Linked DNA regions of Homo sapiens: region 2 is linked to region 1. Evidence: promoter capture Hi-C in human tissues and cell types (Jung and others, 2019). All regions are on one chromosome and are shown on one strand. The core of a region is centred on a gene start or on the middle of the fragment in contact, and the rest is flanking DNA. Distances in the headings are between cores, read along the strand shown.

The links. Contacts are between HindIII fragments. The study calls those that stand out against the background at their distance.
Region 2: a fragment that was not itself captured here is called in contact with the fragment with the promoter of XRRA1 in region 1 in 2 of the 25 tissues and cell types used here (liver and mesenchymal stem cells).

The regions. Positions count from the first base shown.
Region 1 is chr11:74,945,341-74,952,826 of GRCh38, forward strand. XRRA1 (X-ray radiation resistance associated 1) reads right to left here and starts at 3,751. Exons shown (of 19, transcript NM_001378157.1): 1 at 3,588-3,751. SPCS2 (signal peptidase complex subunit 2) reads left to right here and starts at 3,926. Exons shown (of 5, transcript NM_014752.3): 1 at 3,926-4,059. The coding sequence starts at 3,946. RefSeq lists enhancers at 3,119-3,973, 3,471-3,520, 3,641-3,700, 3,831-4,050, 3,974-4,828 and 1 more. The HindIII fragment of the contact is 13,977 bases long and covers 1-7,486 here.
Region 2 is chr11:75,094,922-75,102,407 of GRCh38, forward strand. OR2AT4 (olfactory receptor family 2 subfamily AT member 4) reads right to left here and starts at 1,955. Exons shown (of 2, transcript NM_001405852.1): 1 at 1,907-1,955. It also overlaps the pseudogene LOC100421207. RefSeq lists a cis regulatory region at 1,814-2,329 and enhancers at 4,939-6,138, 5,414-5,483, 5,754-5,823. The HindIII fragment of the contact is 2,061 bases long and covers 2,748-4,808 here.

The sequences.
Region 1 (7,486 bases), core at 2,501-5,000:
ACGAAGCACAAACCTGAAAGGACGGGATCGTTTACATGATTATTTACACAAAATAAATTTCTGCCAGATAAAAATAGGAAAGTCAAAGTTGAAAGATAAGACACAGTCTGGGAAAAGATATTTGCCATGCATATAATACAAAAGATGACTCACACTGAAGCCTGTAGGAGGCATGCAGACCTGGATGCTATCGCAGAAATTCTAGTTCCCTATTAGGAATATTAGGTGAGAAGGTGTAGATCTACAACTAATGGGCCAAGAAGGGCACATAACCCCTGGTTACATTATCTAAGACAAGTAAGATCTTTATATGGTAGAAAAAAAAGTCAAAGTTCCAGATTTGGAGGCTGACTTCCTGGTTAGCTTTAGTTACCTCTGGTCTCCATCTCAAACTTGATGCAGCTAATGCCAATCTGACTGTAGCGCTTCCTCCAAAACAAACATCTCTCTTTCTCTCTCTCTCACACACACACACACAGAGTAAGGCATATTTTTGCTTGTTCCATTCCTTTGGCCTATCACATTTCTGCCCCTCTTCCTTGCCCGGCTACATACAGATTAGCTTTCCTGTATCTCCCTCTCCTTAGGCTGAGCCTCCTCAAGCCCACTTCTTTTTTTATTTATTTTTTCTTTTTTTCTTGAGACAAGGTCTCACTCTGTTACCCAGGCTGGAGTGCAGTGGCATGATCTCAGCTCACTGCAACCTCCACCTCCCAGACTCAAGCAATCCTCCCACCTTAGCCTCCCAAGTAGCTGGACCACAGACGTGTGCTACCATGCCCAGCTAAATTTCTATATTTTTGATAGAGATGGGTTTTCACCATGTTGCCCAGGCTGCCTCAAACTCCCAACTCAGCCTCTCAAAGTGTTGGGATTACAGGCGTGAACCCCCTTGCCCAGCCATCAGGCCCACTTCTTAATGGAGGCACTAACATGGTTAGGCTTTGTGTCCCCACCCAAATCTCATCTTGAATTGTAATCCCCATAATCCCCATGTGTTGAGAGAGAGACCTAGTAGGAAGTGATTGGATCAAGGAGGTGGTCCCCCATGCTGTCCTCACCATAGTGAGTGAGCTCTCACGAGATCTGATGGTTTTATAACTGACAGTTCCTCCTTCACACTCTTGCCCTCTCTTGCCTGTTGCCATGTAAGACTTGCCTCTTCCCTTTCCGCCATGATTGTAAATTTCCTGAGGCCTCCCCAGCCATGCAGAACCGTGAGTCAATTAAACCTCTTTCCTTTATAAATTACCCAGTCTTGAGCAGTTCTTTATAGCAGTGTGAAAATGGACTAATACAGGCACTATACCACACTGTATTATAATGCCTGCTTCCTTGTTTGTTCCCCACCTCACTACAGGCTGTGAGTATCTCCAAGGTCAGGTCAGGCCTGGGTCCTACTTACCTCTTTTTCTTTTTTTTTTTTTTTGAGACGGAGTCTTGCTCTGTCACCCAGGCTGGAGTGCAGTGTCGCTATCTCAGCTCACTGCAAGCTCCGCCTCCCGGGCTCACGCCATTCTCCTGCCTCAGCCTCCCTAGAAGCTGGGACTACAGGCGCCCGCCACCATGCCTGGGTAATTTTTTGTATTTTTAGTAGAGACGGGGTTTCAACATGTTAGCCATGATGGTCTTGATCTCCTGACCTCGTGATCCGCCCGCCTCGGCCTCCCAAAGTGCTGGGATTACAGGCGTGAGCCTGTACTTATCTCTTTATCCTGCATCTCACACAGGACCTGGCCTACTGAAGGAAGAGTCTCAATGATTGTTAATTGAACTAACCCAACCCATGAACAAAATGCCACAGGAGCACTTCATGCAGTGGGTGAAGAAAGAAGAAGCAAGTATCAGAAATAGTTTCACAGGGTAGGTGACATTAAAGCTGGATCTTGAAAGATGAGAAGTTGGCCTGGTGTGGTGGTTCATGCCTGTAATCCCAGCACTTTGGGAGGCCGAAGCAGACGGATCACTTGAGGTCATGAGTTCAAGACTAGGCTGTCCAACACGGCGAAATCCTGTCTCTACTAAAAATATAAAAATTAGCCAGGTGTGGTGGCATGTGCCTGTAGTCCCAGCTACAAAGACTACAGCTTGGGAGGCTGAGGCACAAGAACTGCTTGAACCCAGGAGGCAGAGGTTGCAGTGAGCCAAGATCCCACCACTGCACTCCAGCCTGGGTGACAGAGTGAGACTCTGTCTCAAAAAATAAAAAATAAAATAAAAAGTGACTAGGGCAATGCTGTATCATCTCACTTTATTTTAAATAAAAGAAAAATGAGAAGTTGTAAAAGATAAACTGCAACAACAAGCTACAGGGGATCTGACTAGTGTCCACGGATTGCTTCACAGAGGTAATGAAATATCATCTGATGTTATTGCTATTTAGTGATATTTATTTTCTTTTTAGTAATAATTTAGTTATTTAGTGATAATTATTTTCTTTTCTTTCTGATCTCGGCTCACTGCAACCTCCGCCTCCCCGGTTCAAGCAATTCTCCTGCCTCAGCCTCCCAAGTAGCTGGGATTACAGGTGCCCGCTACCACGCCCGGCTCATTTTTGTATTTTTAGTAGAGACGGGGTTTCACCATGTTGGCCAGGCTGGTCTTTAACTCCTGACCTCAGGTGATCCGCCTGCCTTGGCGGGGATTACAACCATGAGCCCCCACGCCCGGCCGAGATAATTATTTTCACATGAATTTTGGCTTCCCCAAGACAAGTTTTTGTCTGTTTTATTCAGGGATATATCCCTGGTGACTAGAATAGTGCCTGTTACATAGTAAGAAACTCAAAAATATTTGTTTAATTCTTTAGACGCTTATGGGGGATATATAGGAATTAAAAAACAATACAACGTAATAGAGCATGGTATAATACAATACTGCTATTTGATAACTCTGTCATGGAGTAGTAGTTCCACCAGAGTAGCAACCAGGTCTATCTTGATCCCCTGTATCCGTTAGTACAATATTGGTGCTCAATATACATTTGTGAAAAAAATTAATTAAAATACAACGTAATAGAGCATGGTATAATACAATACTGCTATTTGATAACTCTGTCATGGAGTAGTAGTCCACCAGAGTAGCAACCAGGTCTATCTTGATCCCCTGTATCCGTTAGTACAATATTGGTGCTCAATATACATTTGTGAAAAAAATAATTAAAATCTAGAATACTATTACATCCTAAAACCGTAAAAGCAGAGTGTCAGAAGGGATATATATTGGTTTTGATTTTTTTTAAATGCCGGCTTGAAAACCGAGTTCAGATACATGCTATCTGGCTTTGGGTAGGTTCTTTAGTTTCCTCCTCATCTAACAGGGCTGTTGTGGGACTCAGTGAGAGAGAGGATGGCTGGAAGTGCACATAGGATACTGCCTGGCAGACTGTAGGCACTCAGTAAACGCGAGTTCTCCGTTAACACGAAAACATTACAAACAGCTAAAATGACAGCTGCTTGAGAGAATAATCGGTAAGTGCCACAACCGGGCTAGAAAAGGATGAAGGACAAGCTCCTGCCCACTCCTTTGGAAACTCCACACCTGGGCCGGAGAAAGACTCGAATTCGAAAACTAAGTTTCAGTCGCACCTGCCTCCGGCGTCGCTTCAGCCTCCGAGGGGTCTGCGGAGGCGACGTCCCAGTCAGGAGGGATGCGCGCCTGCGAGCCCCCCGGGGATCTCGGAGCCGCTCCACTGCGGTGCCTGCCGCTATCTTCCCCACGCCTTAGTAACTGCGACGCGACGGCAGACAGTGTAGGCGGCAACCGACGGCCGGGACGTCTAACCTCAAGTCCCAGCAAGCCCCGCGGCCACGTCCTCTGACTACCTCGCGCCAGCAAGACCCAAACTACGGATCCCGATTGACTCCGCGCGGCGCGTCACGCTGTCAGCTCCAGCCAATCGGCTTCAGACAAGTCGGAGGGGAGGGAGACGCAGAGGCGGACAAGATGGCGGCGGCAGCTGTACAGGGCGGGAGAAGCGGTGGTAGCGGAGGCTGTAGTGGGGCTGGTGGTGCTTCCAACTGCGGGACAGGAAGTGGCCGTAGCGGCTTGTTGGATAAGGTGAGGAGCCGGTTCTTGGGAACAGTTGAATCCTGGGGAGGCCTGGGAGGCGGCGAGCCAACCTTCCCATCCCGGTCTCCCTTATTTTCTACGGCCTTTTGAGGGGAGCCCTTGTGTGACCACTATCACAACCCTACGCACGCTTGGAGCCTGCCCTTGCCCTCATCACACTTCAAACCTGGACCCGGTCCTCTTTAGAACTTCTTCTTTTCTCGCAAGTGTTCTGGTCCTGGTCGCCACACCTTTTTCGGTAATTTGATTTTTCCTATATTTAATCGTGTCCATCTCTTTTCTCCTGGGGGGCTGGGTGCACTGTTGTCAGTGCCCATTTCACAGACACGGAAAACCGAAGCCCAAAGATTAAAGAATCAGTATCCCCCAAACTCTCTACCACCATCACCCTTGCGTGCTGCTACAGATTCCAAAGTGCTTCTTGTCCTTTTGCTTACTGAAGTTTTTAGGCGTTTTATCATGATAGGCGAATACTGAAAATATTTGAGTATTGACTGTTCTACTGGGCTGACAAGAAGCCTTTAAGATTTTTCTTTTTTTCCTGTTGTTTTTCCCCGCCCTCTCCTCTCTTCCCTCCACCTCCCTCTTTGCTACCAAGTGCACTGCTGCCCGCTCACGCTTGCCCCTTTCCTCCCTCTGCTCATCCAAAAAAATTTTTTTTAACTGCAGTCCTAGCAACAAGGGTTTAAAAGAAAAGAAAAAAAGGAAAACTGTCCCTGGGTTGGCCTTTCTTGCTCTTTGCACAGCATCTTGGAAGAAACAGTTGCACGGAGAACAACGTCCTGGTGTTGATTTTGCCTCTAATTAGCTTTGTGACCTTGAAATATGCTTGCTCTCTCTATATCTGTTTTCTCATCTGCAAAGTGAGAGATTTAGCCTTAAAATGAGGGACTTAACTCTAAATTCCCTTCCAGTTCTCTCATTGTAGGGCCCTGGGCTGGTTTGATGAGAATTGTTAAGCATGGTGTCTTTAATATAGTAAGCAGAATTTTTGAATATAATTGAAAACAGCTTTCAGACTTCCCTGTGCATAACACATGGTAGGTGCTTAAGAAATGAAAACATGATTATGTTGAGGGGTTAAGATCCAGGTCTTTTTACTTGTCTTTTTGAGTGTCATTGGTTTTGAAAGACATGGTTCTCACACTCTTCTCTTGTGAGAGGGGTCACGCTCCATTGCCCAGAATGGATCTTAGCTCACTGCGGCCTTGAACTCTTAAGCTTAGGTGATCTTCCCACCCCAGCTTCCTGAGTAGCTGGGACTGCAAATGTGCACCACTATGCCTGACTAATTTTTTTGCTTTTAACTTTTCTGTAGAGTCAGGGTCTTACTGTGTTGCCCTGGCTGGTCTCAAATTCCTGGGCCTCAAGAGATCCTCCCACCTTGGCTCCCCAAAGTGCTGGGATTACAGGCATAAGTCACCATGCACCTGGCCTCACACTCAAACCTTAAGATACAGAAACATATTCTGGAGGTTGGGATGGTAAATTGCTTCAAGACATGTGAGAGTATGGGGAATTGATGGTCATTTGTGTACACAAATCCTTCCCTCTTGCTAGGTAAGCACCTCATAGCCTGTGCTTACCTGCCCCACTAACTGCTCTTGCTCTTCCTTGCACTTGGATCATCATCAGCAAACATTAAGTATGGGCATTCTGCTAAGGCAGTATAGAATACTATTATTATGGAATAGTGTATATGGCACCATTGTGTTATTGAAAGAACCCGGATGTGGGGATCATAAGATTTCAGCTTTGAAGTATTTCTGCTACTTGCTAACAGTATGAAGATTGGCAAGTCACTTAACCTTTCTTCATTTGGAATTTTGGAATCTCTGGCACCTAGATCACAGGGTTTTGGGAAGAACCAAGTAAGACAGTACACATTAATGATCTCCATTACCTGTAGTGTCCAGTACAGATGTGTGATGGTGGAGGAGTAAATCAAGAATCCTACTGTCAGAGAGCACTCAGAATAGCCAAATATAGGAGATGGGGTAATTGAATCTATTTAAGGAAGTATATGGTATATTCGCTCAAGTGTGTACTTGTTACGGAAGTTCAAATGAGAGAAATAGAGTGAACCCTGCGAGCTTATTGATAAGAGTAAGAGCCTCGGCCGGGCGCAGTGGCTCACACCTGTAAACCCAGCACTTTGAGAGGCCAAGGCAGGCGGATCACCTGAGGTCGGAAGTTCAAGACCAGCCAGACCAAGATGGAGAAACCCCATCTCTACTAAAAATACAAAATTAGCGAAGTGTGGTGGTGCATGCCTGTAATCCCACCTACTCGGGAGGCTGAGGCAGGAGAATCGCTTGAACCCGGGAGGTGGAGGTTGCAGTGAGCCGAGATCACGCCATTGCAGTCCAGCCTGGGCAACAAGAGGGAAACTCTGTCTCAAAAAAAAAAAAAAAAAAAGAGTAAGAGCCTGAAGGAAAGGCCTCATTCCTGAAAGTGGAACTGGCACCTTATTTGGGGGGAGAAAAGAAAGACATGCCAGGTAAAAAAGTCTCCTTGAGTAAAGTTACACAGATGTGATGGTGTTTTATGTTTCTCAGGTATTGAGTTGACTAGAAGGCTCTCTAAAGGAACTGTAGTGACAAGTAGATAGCATCTGATTAGGGAGGCCGTGGATTGCTTGAAGTAGAGGAAAGCTGTTGAAGGGTTTTGAGACTGTGTAAAGTGGTTTTTAGGAAAACTATTCAGATGGTTTGGAGAGACAGAAATTAGAAGACTTCTTAATAAGGCCGTATACACAGTAGTGTATAATATATAATAAAAAGAGACAAATTTGAGTTCTAGTGCCGCATGTTATTAGGTTGGTGCAAAAGTAATTGCTGTTTTTGCCATTGAAAGTAATGGCAAAAACCACGATAACTTTTGCACCTACCTAATAAAAGCCACATGACCTTGGATAAGTTGTGTGATATTACTGAATTTAAATTTCCTTATGTAAATATTGTGGACATTCATACATATTATAGGCTTGTTGTAAGGATCAAATTGTATAGTGCTGGTAAATGTTCTTTGGGTTTTTTAGTTTGGTTTCCTCTGCCCTTTTTATTTTATTTTTATTTTTATTTTTGGTAGAGACAAGGTCTCACTGTGTTGCCCAGACTAATCGTGAACTCCTGGCCTCAAGTGATCTGCCCACCTCAGCCTCCCAAAGTACTGGAATTACAGGCATGAGCCACCGCACCCAGCTCTGTTCCCTGTCCTTTGGAATCTACTAGAAGTAAATGTTCTTTGTAAAGGGCTGTCTGTGGTAAAAAATAGAATGACAAGGTGATGAGAACCCCAACATGAGTAGCAGAAATAGATAAAAGGTCTCACAAAAGAGTGCTTGGAAGATTTAACCAATAAGTGAGGGACAGAAGAGAATAGTCAAGAGCTGCTTGAGTGCCTTTTCTTGGAA
Region 2 (7,486 bases), core at 2,528-5,027, 150 kb after region 1:
CACCAGGTTTTTCTAATACCCAAAGAGATGCAAACTACCTTATTCTGAACGTTGTTACAGCTCAGAGAAGTCAATTATGGATTGAATGCCACCGAGTTAGGCTGAATTGGGGTTTGAGGGGAGAAATTCAGAGCCGTCAAGCCTGACTGAGCCTCTCTTCCCACCTCCTCCCTCACTTCTATTAAACAGCAGGGAGACAGATGCTGAGTCTGAAGTCCAGAAATAGTGTCTTTTCAAGGTCAACCAACAAATTCATAGCAGAAGTAGGTTTTAAAGCCGGTGTCCTGGCTCCCACCCAGTCTTTGTAGGATGTTTCATGAGAGAGGATGATTCCTTAGCCTGCTATTCAAAGCCTGTCTTCTTGCAGCCTTGTTTCTCCTTATTCTAGTCAAATGGCAACTCCTTGCTCTTGCCTTGTGCTTCTGCCAAATTCAGCTCAAATATTACTTCCTCCAAGAGATCTTCTATGGTCCTGGCTGGCTCAGGAGCCTCTTTCCTGGGCTCTTGAAGTTCCTGTGCTTCTGTTTGTCATTATTATGATTACACCAGGTTGTCTCTGTCTATTTATGTGTCCACCACACCAGGAGCACTTTCAGAGCAGTAATGGGGTCTGATCGTTTCTATTTGATACTGCACCATCCTTCCCAGGAGCTTAGTGCTCTGGAATGCAGCTTTCCAACTTGCCTTGTTTTGCTGATAAATCATCAAATAGGAATGAAGGGGCCATTAGTGATTAAATAGTTTTCACCTAACCTCTTTTTTTTTTTTTTTTTTGAGATTGAGTCTTGCTCTATCACCCAGGCTGGAGTGCAGTGGCACGATCTCGGCTCACTGCAACCTCTGCCTCCCGGGTTCAAGCGATTCTCATGCCTCAACCTCCCGAGTAGCTGGGATTACAGGCGCTTGCCACCATGTCCGGCTAATTTTTGTATTTTTAGTAGAGATGGTGTTTCACCATGTTGGCCAGGCTGGTCTTGAAGTCCTGATCTCAAGTGATCTGCCCGCCTCGGCCTCCCAAAGTGCTGGCATTTCACCTAACCTCTTTATTATATAGATGGGGACAGAAAAGGGAGTCCCAGAAATGGGCTGTGACTTTCCCAAGGTCACACAGTAAGTGGGTGATAGAACTAGAACTAGACTGTCAACAGAGCTAGATTATCAACTCACCTTGAGCTCTCCTGGACCAGCTCTGCCACTCTCTTGCTGTGATGCTGGGTCTCTGAGCCTCAGTTTTCCCATCTATAAAATGAGGACTTTGGAAGCAATGATCTCCAGCTTGATAAATATTTTGAGTATCTACTCTGTGTTTAGATAAATGAGAGATTCGAAGACAGATGTGTCATGGCCTCAGCCTCTTAGGAAGGAGAGCAAGGGCGCTCTCATTTGTTAAGCTTCTGTTGCCTGCTTGATTCTTTACAGTCATTACACATCATTACGACGCCCAAACTCATGCAGTTCTCTCATGATATTCTCACCATCCTGCACTGTTTCCATAGAAAAGGAGCAGGATATACGTGAAGCACAGAATCTAGGTCTATTAACTTTGCAGTTAGAAAGGCCTGAGTTTCCTTCCTGGCTCCACCACTTTGTGCTTTCCTCCAATGGACTGCAATTCCCTCACAAATTATTCCCATTTCTCTTATCGTCATCAGCTTTGCCTCCTTGTGAGGAATTCTCTTCCAAGATCATTAGCCTCTTGCTTGTGACTGCACAGCCCTGCCCCTGCCTGCGAGGGTGTCTGGTCTACACTCACCCAGGCTGACTGCGTGGTTGACTTGGATCCTGGGACCCTGACATTCCCAGGATCTTTACTGTGGTTGTACATGCCCCCAACCTCCCTGAGCCTATCTCCCCATCCCAGTCTCTGCCTGCTCTGCGCACTCCATCCCCAGCCCAGCTCACCTACCAATCCTGGTCCGCCTTGATGTCTTGTGTAGAGTCGTCACAGTTGGCCTTGGTTGGGAAGAGCCAGGTAGAAACTCAACCATGGCCCTTTAAACCCTCGGGCCCCTCTCTGCAACCAGGCCTGCTGGGGCTCTCTCCCCACAAGAAGGCTCACCCGTGGGACCAGATAACTGCCAGTCAGCTGAGAACAACTTCCGAGGGTGGAGTGGGGGACTTTGTTCTGGGCTTTGCTGATAATGAAAACAACATCATTAACAACCCTCATGGGTCCCAGAACTTTATCACCAGTATTATTCCTGTTTTCCCATCTGGTCCTCACAATAGCCAGGGAAGACAGGCAGAGTCAGGATTATTTCCACTATTTTACATTTGAGGAAACTGAGATCTAGAGAAGTGAGGTGACTTGCCCAAGGTCATATGAGTGGCTGGTGGCAGAGCTGGGATTTGTACCCAAGGCTCCAATTCTGGTTCAGTGGTTCAGCAACATGTTATCTAATGACTAAGACCCGAGTTATTCCCAGTAATATGACTTTGAACAAATCCCTTAACCTCACTGGGTCTTCATTTTGTCATCTGTGGAATGGGTATAACGACACTAACTCTCTCACAGGATAACTGGGCAGGTTGAGGTGCTTCACCCAGTTCCTGCCACTTATTAGGCATTCAATAAGTGGGAGCTATTATTTTAATGGACCAAAGCAGTAAAGCCTTGTTCAATGAGTATGTGATACTTCCGCTGCTGTGCAATGAGAACTTGCAAAGGTTTTGTGGAAAGAATGTGAGGGTGGAAGTCTCTGCCCCAACCCCATACAGGACAAAGTCAAGAGTCACAGACTCTTCCTGCCTCAATCTTTCTGATTCTCTCCTTTGGCTCCAGTGTTCTGTTTCTGACTTGACTGACTTGGTCACTCCTACTAATACTCATAAAATTTTAATTTTTTTTTAATTTCACAAGTAATAAACAGAACCTCATTGTAGAACATTTTAATCAATACAGAGCTTTACTGAGTCAAAAGTGAAAGTTCTAGGCCGGGTGTGGTGGCTCACGCCTGTAATCCCAGCACTTTGCCGGGCCGAAGGGGGAGGATCTCTTGAGTCCAGGAGTAAGAGAGCAGCTTGGACAACTGGCAAAACTCTATCTCTACTGAAAAATACAAAAAAATTAGCTGGGCATGGTGGCATGCACCTGTAGTCTCAGTGAGAGGTGACAGCGTGCTGGCAGTCCTCACAGCCCTCGCTCGCTCTCGGTGCCTCCTCTGCCTGGGCTCCCACTTTGGCGGCACTTGAGGAGCCCTTCAGCCCACCGCTGCACTGTGGGAGCCCCTTTCTGGGCTGGCCAAGGCCGGAGCCGGCTCCCTCAGCTTGCAGGGAGGTGTGGAGAGAGAGGCGCGAGTGGGAACCAGGGCTGCGCCTGCGCTTGCAGGCCAGCTGGAGTTCTGGGTGGGCGTGGGCTTGGCGGACCCCACACTCAGAGCAGCCGGCCGGCCCTGCTGTCCCCAGGCAATAAGAGGCTTAGCACCCGGGCCAGCGGCTGTGGAGGGTGTACTGGGTCCCCCAGCAGTGCCAGCCCACTGGCGCTGTGCTCGATTTCTCTCTGGGCCTTAGCTGCCTTCCCGCGGGGCAGGGCTCGGGACCTGCAGCCCGCCATGCCTGAGTCTCCCACCCCCTCCCTGGGCTCCTGTGCGGCCCCCGCCTCCCCGATGAGTGCTGCCCCGTGCTCCACAGCACCCAGTCCCATCGACCACCCAAGGGCCGAGGAGTGTGGGCGCATGGCTCCGGGACTGGCAGGCAGCTCCACCTGCAGCCCCGGTGCGGGACCCACTGGGTGAAGCCAGCTGGGCTCCTGAGTCTGGTGGGGACGTGGAGAACCTTTATGTCTAGCTCAGGGATTGTAAATACACCAATCGGCACTCTGTATCTAACTCAAGGTTTGTAAACACACCAATCAGCACCCTGTGTCTAGCTCAGGGTTTGCGAATGCACCAATGGACACTCTGTATCTAGCTGCTCTGGTGGGGCCTTGGAGAATCTTTGTGTCTAGCTCAGGGATTGTAAACGCACCAATCAGCGCCCTGTCAAAACAGACCACTGGGCTCTACCAATCAGCAGGATGTGGGTGGAGCCAGGTAAGAGAATAAAAGCAGGCTGCGCGAGCCAGCAGTGGCAACCCGCTCAGGTCCCCTTCCACACTATGGAAGCTTTGATCTTTCGCTCTTTGCAATAAACCTTGCTACTGCTCACTCTTTGGGTCCACACTGCTTTTATGAGCTGTAACACTCACCGCGAAGGTCTGCAGCTTCACTCCTGAAGCCAGCGAGACCACAAGCCCACCAGGAGGAACGAACAACTCCAGATGCGCTGCCTTAAGAGATGTAACACCACGAAGGTCTGCAGCTTCACTCCTGAAGCCAGTGAGACCACTAGCCCACCGGGAGAAACGAACAACTCCAGATGCGCCGCCTTAAGAACTGTAACACTCCCCGCGAAGGTCTGCAGCTTCACTCCTGAGCCAGTGAGACCACCAACCCACCAGAAGGAAGAAACTCCCAACACATCCGAACGTCAGAAGGAACAAACTCCAGACGCGCCACCTTAAGAGCTGTAACACTCACCGCGAGGGTCCGTGGCTTCATTCTTGAAGTCAGTGAGACCAAGAACCCACCAATTCCGGACCCATCAGCTACCAGGGAAGCTGAGGCAGGAGAAACACCTGAGCCTGGGAAGTTCAGGCTGCAGTGAGCCACAGCTGTGCCTCTGCACTCTAGCCTTAGCAATGGAGTGAGACCCAGGAAGGAAGGGAGTGGTGGAAGGGGGGAAGGGGGGAAGGGAGGGAAGGGAGTGGGGGAAGGGAGGGAGGGAGGGAAGGGAGTGGGGGAAGGGAGGGAGGGAAGGGAGGAAGGGAGGGAAGGGAGTGGGGGAAGGGAGGGAGGGAGGGAAGGGAGGAAGGGAGGGAAGGGAAGGGAGGGAGGGGAGGGAGAGAAAGAGAGAGAAAGTTTTTTTTCACACCAATTCTTACCCATATTTTTCCTCCAGTCTTAACAATGGAGTGAGATCCTGTCAGAAAGAAAGGAAGGAAGAAAGAAAAGAAAGAAGAGTTAGTTAGTCTTCTTCACACCAATTCTTACCCACATTTTTCCTCCATGCTCCAGAAGTAAACATTATTACTGATTTGGTGTGTTTCTTCCAGACTTTTCTAAGCGCATGTGTTTGTGTATGTGTGTATGGTTTTGCTTTTCTTTTAATGTAAATTGAATCATTCTGTATTTATTGTATAGCATATTTTAATTTAATAAGTCTAGGAATTTTTCTGTGTCTGATCTACTTCATTTTTTTGTATCTGATATTTGGCATTTTGTAGTACAGATACAACATAGTTTGTCTAATAACTCATCTGTTGATGAACATTTAAGTTCTATCTCATTCTTGCTATTATGAAAACTATTATAATTAATTTCCTTTTAACATGCATTTGGGGTCACATGTGCTCAAATATTTCTCGGAGATAGACAGATCCTTAGAAGTAGAACTTCTGGGCCAAGCAGTCAGCACATTTTCAAATGGAATGGGGTGTGCATGTGCAGGGACTATCCCAGCTTCAAACCCAGAAGCTTTGAGGATGCTGAGTCACAGTGATGACTGAGATGACCCTGTTACACCCGGCCTGATGCTTCTGCCCAGGACCAGGGGAAAACCCATGCATGAAGGGTTCATTTCAGCCTGCAGAAGAGACTTCCCTATTAGACCTCTGCAGACTGTAGACTTTCAACTGCAGACTGGGAGGTTACTAAGTCCTTAGCAGCTGAGTACAGAACACGATGGAAATGAAAACATGGTACAACAGAGGTTACAGCCCTCTCCTGACCTGATAAACTTCATGATGGAGCTAAAGATGGTTTGGGAAGTTTCTTTGAATCACAAGCAGAACTGTATGTGCTGTCTCCTCCTGTCTGGATCTACTCACTACTTGCTAAAGAGAAGAATTTTGGTTTGGGATAAATTTATGTGGATCTTCGCTTTGGTGCCATAAAGGTAAGTGCTAAAGATGTTTCTGGGGGAGAAGACTAAGCTCTCTTAAGTTAAAGGCAAAGAATCCTGCAAAATCACCAGGTGGTTAGGTGGATTCTTTTGTTCTGTTTTCCATTTCTTAGACGTGATGAGATCCCTAATAAGCCTTAAAAAGCCATCTTTTGGCGGCATAAGAATGACTTAAGGCTTTCGAGATGTTATGTATGAAAGTAACTAAAAGACTTGGGCACTTGGGCTGAAATAACCCATATGGAGTGCAACAGTTAAGAGAATTGCAATAAGTAGGAGAAAACAAACAAAAACTAAAATTTAGAATCCTTTTGGATTTCCTATTTTGTTTTACTAAAGAGAATGAACCAAAATAGAGAGTAAAACTGTTGGCTGAGATTTCTTTGTATAAAAAGCCAACATTCTAAGACTTACTTTTATAACATTATGGGATAAAATAGGATTTCTTTTATTACCTCTAAGAATAAAACTCTCCTCATCCTGCTAGGAAATGACTGGCTTTTCTATAGCCATAGTAACAATGATCAGAACTTGTTTAAAACATGCTTAACTGGCTGGGCATGGTGGCTCACACCCGTAATCTCAGCACTTTGGGAGGCCAACGTGGGTGGATTGCCTGAGCTCAGGAGTTTGAGAACAGCCTGGGCAACATAGCTGAAACCCCGTCTCTACGAAAATACAAAAAAAAAAAAAAAAAATTAGCTGGGCGTGGTGGTGTGCACCCGTGGTCCCAGCTACTCAGGAGGCTGAGGCATGAGAATTGCTTGAACTCAAGAGGTGGAGGTTGCAGTGAGCCGAGATTACACCACTGCGCTCCAGCCTGGGCAACAGAGTGAGACTCTGTTTCCCAAAAACCTCAAAAAACAAACAAAGAAACATACTTAATTGTTTAATCACAGCTTTGAGCCAGTACCCACACTTCTGAAAGTCAGGGAATCTAAAAGCCACTCAGCAATGGTTTAACTCCAGTAACCACACTTCCATAGCTAAAAGCAAACTAATCCCTAAACACTCCCACCTTTGAAAGTCCACCAACCCCAGATCTCCACATTTTCCACAGCCCTGTGTAAGATCAGCTCCCTGTGTTTCTCAAAAACAGACTATATCATAAACCATAGCATCCTGTGCTTACACTAGTGATACATTCAGCCTTTTGTTTCTGATATTGAGTGGTGATCTGTTCCTTTAACATTTCTTATTTATTTCCATATGGTCTATAGTAATGTCCCCTCTTTCACTTCTGATTTTAGTAATGGGAGTCTTATCTCTTTTTATATTGGTAGGCTAAAGTTTTAACAGTTTTATTGATATAGTCAAGGAACCAACTTTGGTTTTGTTGATTTTCTTTATTTTTCTATTCTCTATTTCATTTATTTCTGTTCTAATCTTTGTTATTTTATGCCCACTTCTTGTTTGAGTTGAGTTTGCTTTTCTTTTTTAATTTCTAAAGATAAACAGTTAGGGTACTGACTTGAGATTTGTTTTCTTTTTAATATAGGTGTTTACAGCTATAAATTTCCCTCTCTGTACTGCTTTAGCTGTATCC